2 separate regions of the Homo sapiens genome follow, and region 2 is linked to region 1. Evidence: promoter capture Hi-C in 16 types of primary human blood cells and fetal thymus (Javierre and others, 2016). All regions are on one chromosome and are shown on one strand. The core of a region is centred on a gene start or on the middle of the fragment in contact, and the rest is flanking DNA. Distances in the headings are between cores, read along the strand shown. Region 1 holds the start of H2BC6-AS1 (H2BC6 antisense RNA 1). Region 2 holds the start of TRI-AAT5-2 (tRNA-Ile (anticodon AAT) 5-2).

The links. The method cuts DNA at HindIII sites, captures the fragments that hold promoters and counts their contacts. A CHiCAGO score of 5 or more calls a contact.
Region 2: a contact is called between a fragment that was not itself captured here and the fragment with the promoter of H2BC6-AS1 in region 1, in 2 of 17 cell types (erythroblasts and naive B cells). The highest score is 6.6, in erythroblasts.

The regions. Positions count from the first base shown.
Region 1 is chr6:26,170,925-26,174,904 of GRCh38, reverse strand. It overlaps H2BC6-AS1 (H2BC6 antisense RNA 1), which reads left to right and starts at 2,132. Exons shown (of 3, transcript NR_186648.1): 1 at 2,132-2,870. It also overlaps a transcript of H2BC5 not described here. RefSeq lists an enhancer at 2,166-3,058. The HindIII fragment of the contact is 22,011 bases long and covers 1-3,980 here.
Region 2 is chr6:27,175,155-27,179,134 of GRCh38, reverse strand. TRI-AAT5-2 (tRNA-Ile (anticodon AAT) 5-2) reads left to right here and starts at 1,847; the gene lies at 1,847-1,920. RefSeq lists enhancers at 690-749, 1,100-1,199, 1,390-1,589, a silencer at 1,792-1,941 and a cis regulatory region at 931-2,008. The HindIII fragment of the contact is 1,154 bases long and covers 1,554-2,707 here.

The DNA.
Region 1 (3,980 bases), core at 883-3,382:
AGAAAACATCCCTTCTTTTTTTCAAAGCACACGTTGGACAATTTCAAAACAAATTAACCCTGGTTTCAGAAAGTTACAGAAATTAAGGAACATAACTACAAAAAGGGAGATATAAAGAATGACAAGAGAATGCTGTGTAACTTTTACAAAAAATTAAACTCAGTGGAAAATAATTTTCAAGAAAAAGAAGAAAATAGACAAGCTGACTAAACAAATTATGATTATGAAAATAAGGTAGGCAGTTAAAAAATATTTTCTACGTCCTTCCACCCAAATGCTGCCAAGTCCGGTCAGATATTCCAAGTTTTAGTGAATTTATGAGGAATAGATTATCTCTTTTTTTTTTTTTTTTTTTCTGAGATGGTTCTCGCTACGTTGCCTAGGCTGTAGCGCAGAAGCTATACACAGGCATGATGGCAGCACACTACAGTCTCCAATTCCTGGGCTCAAGTGGTCCTTCTGCTTCACCTCCTGAGTAGCTGGGACTACAGGGACGTGCCACCTCACTTGGCATGATACCTATTTCACAGAATCTGTTACTATAGAAAAACAGCTCTCCTACTCACTTTTTTCTTGTAAAATTGTATAACATTATTAGCAAAACTGGAGAATACAAATTTTAAAAAGGAAGGAAGAGAGAAAGAAGAAAAAAACAAAATTATAGTTTTGTCTCACTAATGAACATTCATTTTTGTTTTTTAGAAAAAAATGCCTATTATGAGAAAAAATGGAAACCAGGAGAAATTGCAGAGACCATGTTATTTAAATAAATAGCTGATTATATAGGGTTTATTCTAAGAATAGAAGGAAGTTTAGTATTCTAAATCTGCCAGTTTAAGAAATTAATAAAGGAAGGCCCAGAGCAGTGGCTCACGCCTGTATTCCTAGCACTTTAGGAGGCTGAGGCAGGTGGATCACTTAATGTCAGGAGTTCAAGGCCAGCCTGGCCAATGGCGGCCTATCTTCTTCTGATAATACAAAACTTAGCCAGATGTGGTGGCACGCACCTGTAGTCCCTGTTACTTGGGAAAGTGAGGCAGAAGAATCGCTTGAACCTGGGAGGTAGAGGTTGTAATGAGCTTAGATCAGGGCACTGCACTCCAGCCTGGGAGACAGAGTGAGATTCCATCTCAAAATAAAAACTAAAATAATAAAAAATAAAATAAAATAAAATAAAATAAATAAAATAAAAAAGAGATTAATAAAGAAAAAACATGATCATCTCCAAAGATACTGCGAAAGCATTTAACAAAATATAACACTCTTTAATCATAAACACTTAACAGACTACAATGAGAAGAGAACTTCATAAGGAGGAGCTACAGCGAGTATAACACTTAATGGTGCCGTTTTGGAAGGATTCCCATAGAGGCGGAAGGAAGACAAGTGTGGTGAGAAAGTACTCCTATTCAACACGGCATCACAGGGTTTGGCCAATACCATGAGATAGGAACAGGCAGTCAGAAGAGCAAGGATTCAATAGGAAAAGATGATTATCTTTGAAAATAACATAATTGTCAAGGTAAAAGTTCACAAGAATCTATAAACAATTAGATCAAATAAGAATTGGAATTAGTGGGCATAGGCCAGGCGTTGTGGCTCACGCCTGTAATCCCAGCACTTTGGGAGGCCGAGGCGGGCGGATCACGAGGTCAGGAGATCGAGACCATCCTGGCTAACACGGTGAAACCCCGTCTCTACTAAAAAATACAAAAAAACTTAGTCGGGCGTGGTGACTGTAGTCCCAGCTACTCGGGAAGCTGAGGCAGGAGAATGGCGTGAACCCGGGAGGCAGAGCTTGCAGTGAGCCGAGACTGCGCCACTGTACTCCAGCCTGGGGGACAGAGCGAGACTCCGTTTCAAAAAAAAAAAAAAAAAAATTAAAGTCATATGAAGATTAATATGTAACATCTTCTTCGACTTAAATGTTCATTTTTTTCCTTCTGACTTTAGAAGAAATTAAAATATTTTCATGAGCCTCCAAAAGAACTGCGGACCCTAGACACCGTGCCTGCTGTTTAATGGAGTACGGCACTGCGTGTACCGGAAGATGATTTTTTTAAAAAAAAACTCAATTAGGAAATAATTATTCGCACACATTCATATACATACATACATACACTGAATCCTCACACGAAGAGCCCTACAGGCGTGAGAACAGTAAGGGAGATGCAAGAAAGGTCTCCTTGGAGTTGGGAGGCGTATTTACAGCTACTAGAGAAGGGGGAAGTGCCAGCTCCCCGAGAAGAAAGCAGGAGGATGCTGAGAGACTAAAGCTGAAATTTTCTGCCTGCTTCCTCACTCTTTTCGTTGGTTTCAGCCGTCTGAAAAACCCTTGTGAGAGGAGCAAAAAGGTCAAGGGAAGATTGTTGCCTTGCTCTCAGTCTTCAAAATTTTCGATCCTCCGTTTTTTTTGTTTTGAGACGCAGTCTCGCTCTGTCGCCTAGGCTGGAGTGCAGCGGCGCGATCTCGGTCACTGCAACCTCCGCCTCCCTGGTTCTAGCGATTCTTCTGCCTCAGCCTCCTGAGTAGCTGGGACTACAGGCGCGTGCCACCACACCCGGCTAATTTTTTTGTACTTTTGATAGGGACGGGGTCTCACGGTGTTAGCCAGGATGGTCTCTATCTCCTGAACTCGTGATCCGCCCGCCTCGGCCTCCCAAAGTGCTGGGATTACAGGCGTGAGCCACCGCGCCCGGCCGGTCCTCTGTTTTTAAACTGTAAAGGACTCCAGCGGATTGTTCGAAGTCTCCGATATCCCGCGATCTGGTGGCCGCAGAAGAAAGAGGCCGAGTCGGCGGGGACTGGGAACCACCAGTTAGCGGCCTACGGGCAACCTCCCGGACGCGCGCGCCGGGCCGACGTTAAACGTACGTGACGCCCTATGCGGGAGCCGGATGGGCGTAACGGGGCGGCGGCGTAACGTGTGGCTCTGTGGTTAGGGCACGGAGGGGCGTGGCCGGACGGCCCTATGAGGGGGCCGGCGTTTTTGGCGAGGGTTGATGGGATGACCCTATGAGGGAGCCTGCGTGGAGGGGCACGACCGGCCCCAAGACTCCTTTTCATGGCCGCATAGCCGCACCGGGAGTAGGATGACCGCTGTTATTTTTCAGGACCTCTCATCTTCGGTTTGAAATTCTTTGCTTTTTTCCGGCTTTGTGTGGCTATTTAGTATTAGCATTTTAGGGCAGTTTCATTTCCTTTAAAGTAAAACTCTCCAAAGTGGTCTCCGGACCAGCAGCATCAGCATCACCTGCATAATTTAGAAGTACAAATTATCAGGTCCTACCTCAGATCTAATGCATCAGAAAAGTTTTGTGACTGCTTCAAAACATTGTTTCCCTTAATTCAGATGCTGGAGGAGACCTTTCAAATGGCAGCTTAGCATAAGCTAACCAGTTTTTAACTTCAGGTTCATTACCAAAGCCACATCAGTGCTTAGGCCTTATCCACTCAGACCTCCTTGATGCTGGAAAGTAAAGTGAAAATAGGTAGATAGATGTCTAGAAAGGGGAGGTCTTAGAAGAAAGGTTTGGATCAACAATGAAGGCAGAATTTACAATTCTCCGCAGATTTTATTAATTATAACTTTTTTTTTCAGACGTCCTGCCATCTTCTCATTCAGACTTTTCTTAGCAAAGGTAGTCCATGGCAAGTAATGAATTCCCAGTAACTAGGTCTGTAACAGAAGTAAATTCTGTTTTTATGTTTATAAACTCAAAAAGTAACATGAAGTGCAAACACCTTTAGTTCCTTCCCCTCGGTAACCTTCTTTTGATGAACCAGTGTGCAGCAAACCAGGATGAGTTGGATTTGGGTGGGATCCACACAGTCATTTTCAGGCAGATGAGACTTCCTAAGTTCTATGTATAGATTCATATTATCAGTTATTTTATGCATTCATTTCTCCTCTGTCTTCATGTCTCTCCCCTGATTGAAGAAATAAGAAGGGTTTAGTTATTAGGTGCCATTTTGCCATC
Region 2 (3,980 bases), core at 881-3,380, 1.0 Mb before region 1:
GGCTGCTTCCCTTGCGGGAATTTTAGGCACCTCTTAGCATTGGCGGGTAGGTGGAATCCCCTGATTGGAAAACCGCCCTAAGCCGTATGAGGTGACCACGGAACCAAGTCCGGACTCCGCACTCGCCTTGCGCCCAGTGGTATGTCTCACTCACACACTTTAAAACTCCAGAGACCCCAACCACCAAGGAAGGCTTTGCCGCCCCAATAGCAACGTTTCTTACCTTGGTCTGTGCACAGAGTTACCTGTGGTCGCCATGGAATTCTTTTTTTTTTTTTTTTTGAGACGGAGTCTCGCTCTGTTGCCTAGGCTGGAGTGCAGTGGCATGATCTCGGCTTACTGCAACTTCTGCCTCCCGGGTTCAAGTGATTTTCCTGCCTCAGCCTCCCAAGTAGCTGGGACTAAGGGCGCGCACCACCACGCCCGGTTAATTTTTGTATTTTTAGTAGAAACGGAGTTTCACCGTATTGACCAAGCTGGTCTCACAGAATTCTTAAGGATCCTCCCTACTGTCCGCGTTGCTGAGAGTCCGGATTTATTCGTCACTTCGGGCGGGACTCGATCCTCCGCTCCTGGGGCCACCACGAGGCAATGGGACGCGTCTCCCCATGAAAGATAATCGCTAGCCCCTCCCGAAGGAGAATGGGATCCCGGACGAGTCCCTAAGATTTACTGGAAACAAGTGCTTGGTGTAGCCAAAAGAAACCCTCACTTAGAAAATTCCTCAGCAAGGCATCTTTACTTCTGCAGAAGGGTGCTCCTTGCCTGTTACAATTGCAAGAGCACACCAAACAAAGGAGGTAAGGAGTTTTTAATCCTAACGCAGTTCCTGTTTCTGTGTCCTTCCCCTATTGGCTGGGGTTGGACCGCACAATCTAAGCTGATCCCGATTGGCTAAGACTTAAACTTTGGCAAATAGGGTAAACCCTGGATTTGCGAAAAAAAGGAGTGTATGTGTGTGGTGGGGGGCGGGGGGCAGGCAGGATTGACGTACAACTTTTGCAACTTATGACAAGAAAGTTGAGTCTTTGAAGAGGGACTTAGTTGTCCCAACACTCTGAGTTGCCTGACCCGGTCCTGGGCTCAGTTCCTCCCAGATACCGGCGTTTATCATTGGTGTAGATAATGGTGACTTCCCTTGTCTTAGATGTGGGTGTCTTGGTCTTCCCGGGACGGAAGGAGTCAGAGACTCTTGAAAGGAGCCGTCCCGCTGGTCCTTTCATTTACGCCGATGCCAGCCCGGCACTCGAGCATCACCAAGGGCCCGGTGCCCGGCACTGCAGGGCCAAGTCTGATTTTATCGTTTGTGGAGCTGCAAGCTTAGGACGCACAGCTGTGAATTTCGGGTCCTGGTGACTGCGGAACCACCGCGAGGCCAGGAGGCGAGACAGTGCACTTTCCCAGGTTCCCAGGCCTAAGAGCCCACCTGGCTGGAATGGTCTCAAGGAGCAGAGAGGAATCCGCACCCTCCGAGTCCTCCGAACCCTCCGATCCTGCGAACCTGCGGCGGCTCTGCGGTTGGTTCCGTGAGGAACTGGCCGCGATCGCAAGCTTGGAGCTGCTTTTTGGTTTGTTCTGAGTCCTTCACCTGGTGAGGGGAAGGAAGCCCTGCTTGGGGTCGTTGAATCTGAGTTTTCTCCAGTCAGAATCAGTGGTTTGAGATTGTTTTCCCTGAAACAGCATGGTTTTCCTGTGCCTACAGTGAGGAATTCTCCTTTTCTTAAAAAAAAATATATTTTATTAATAAAAGGGAAAGTAACGCTTCTATTACAAAAAAAAAAAAATTCAGCGGGCATGGATCAGGTATGATTTAAATAAACATAAGAAAAGACCCTCCCACCAAGGAGGCCGGTTAGCTCAGTTGGTTAGAGCGTGGTGCTAATAACGCCAAGGTCGCGGGTTCGATCCCCGTACGGGCCACTTCCGTGGGTTTGTTTTTTTTTTTTTTCTTCTTTTTCGTTTTTATTTTACACCGACCACACCTCGCTTGTAAACTTCGGTTTTACATCGAACTCCGTAGCCTCGCCTATCCATTTATAAATGTAGTTGCACTAGCTAGACAGGAATTTTTTTCTTTTTTCTTTTTTTTTTTTCTTAAATCGACCACACCTGGATTGTATACTACCGTCTTACATCCAACTCCGGAGCGCTGCCTATCCATTTGTAAATGTGGTCGCAATAGCTAGACAAGCATTAGATTTGCACGTTTTTTATTCTTTTGAAGAAATAATATACGAGTTAGGATGAAAAGGTTTTTCTTATTTGTTTGTTTTGTTTGTTTTTGAGACAGAGTCTTGCTCTGACGCCCAGGCTGGAGTGCAGCGGCGCGATCTTGGCTCGCTGCAACCTCCGCCTCCCAGGTTTAAGCAATTCTTCTGCCTCAGCCTCCCAAGTAGCTGGGATTACAGGCGTGTGCCACGATGCCTGGGTAATTTTTGTATTTTCAGTAGAGACGGAGTTTCACCATGTTGGCCAGGCTAGTCTTGAACTCCTGACCTCAGGTGATCCGCCTGCCTTGGCCTCCCAAAGTGCTGAGATTACAGGCATGAGCCATCGCGCCCGGCCAGGATGAAGATTTTTTAAAGGAAATTCAATGAGGTGGGTGGGTGATTTTAGAAAAGGGTTAAATAAGAATTCGATAATGTCTTGTATTATTTTGGGAAAAAAAAACTTTCTGAGATAATACTATTTTGACATATTTTAAGCTTTTGAAAGAGATCATATTGATTCTTCTCCTAGTTGATCACTCAGTTGGTTAAATTGTTGTGTTTGTAGCTTTGAGGGCGAGGGTTCAGTCTACGTGGGAAAAAGCCAGACTTGTGACGTTGCTTTCTGCCAAGCTCCAGACACTCAGCCACAACTGCTCAGTGTTAAAATAGATCCGTGGTTAGCCTTAGGCTTATATTTGACAGCTGTTCTCGATGTGGCCCATACCAAGCCATTTACGATGCGGCCCTTACCAAGCCATTTACAGTTCATTAAACAATTTTTGAACATATATCGTAAAAGCGATAGGTTTGAAATGTGACAAAAATGGAGTGCGTGGTGGGAGACAGGAGGGCCAGAGCCTCTGGGTCCACTCTAAGTCTTAGCACCTCGCTCTTTCTGTCCTGCGCTTTCTTTTTTTTTTTCTTTTTTTCTTTTTCTTTTTTTTTTTTTTTTTTGAGACGGAGTCTCGCTCTGTCGCCCAGGCTGGAGTGCAGTGGCGCAATCTCGGCTCACTGCAAGCTCCGCCTCCCGGGTTCACGCCATTCTCCTGCCTCAGCCTCCCAAGTAGCTGGGACTACAGGCGCCCGCCACTACGCCCGGCTAATTTTTTGTATTTTTAGTAGAGACGGGGTTTCACCGTTTTAGCCGGGATGGTCTCGATCTCCTGACCTCGTGATCCGCCCGCCTCGGCCTCCCAAAGTGCTGGGATTACAGGCGTGAGCCACCGCGCCCAGCCCTGTCCTGCGCTTTCTTGGAGTCTGGTCACTGGGTCCCCGTGTGCCTGGCACGTGTCTCATTTACATTTCTTCCTTCACTCTTCATCCTCCCAACATATTTTTACCCTTCTCTTATTTTAAAACATGGGTTGCTATGAAAATGACATTAACAATATTGATAAATAATGAGGTAAATAATGGCTCAAAAACAGCGCCAAGGACATAGTGGGCGAATCACAAAGGGAAGGGGCTCCCTCTGTTTTGCTCAGTGCTGTGATTTTTCACGTCAAAAACAGTAAGTAGCTCAAAGTCAGCGACTGAAAAAGATTTCTTTAGAATAAATTAATGAAGAGTACCTACTACTTAGTCCATTGTATATTAGATGATATATACAGATTTAAGTATAAGAAGGATTCCACAGGTAGTTGCTGACTTTGAAAACGAAGGGAGCCACCAGCCAGAGAACTCAGGCATCTGCTAGAAACTGTGAACAACCTGTAAACCGTTATCTCAGTCCTACAGCTGCAGGGAACTGAATGCTACTGACAACCTGAG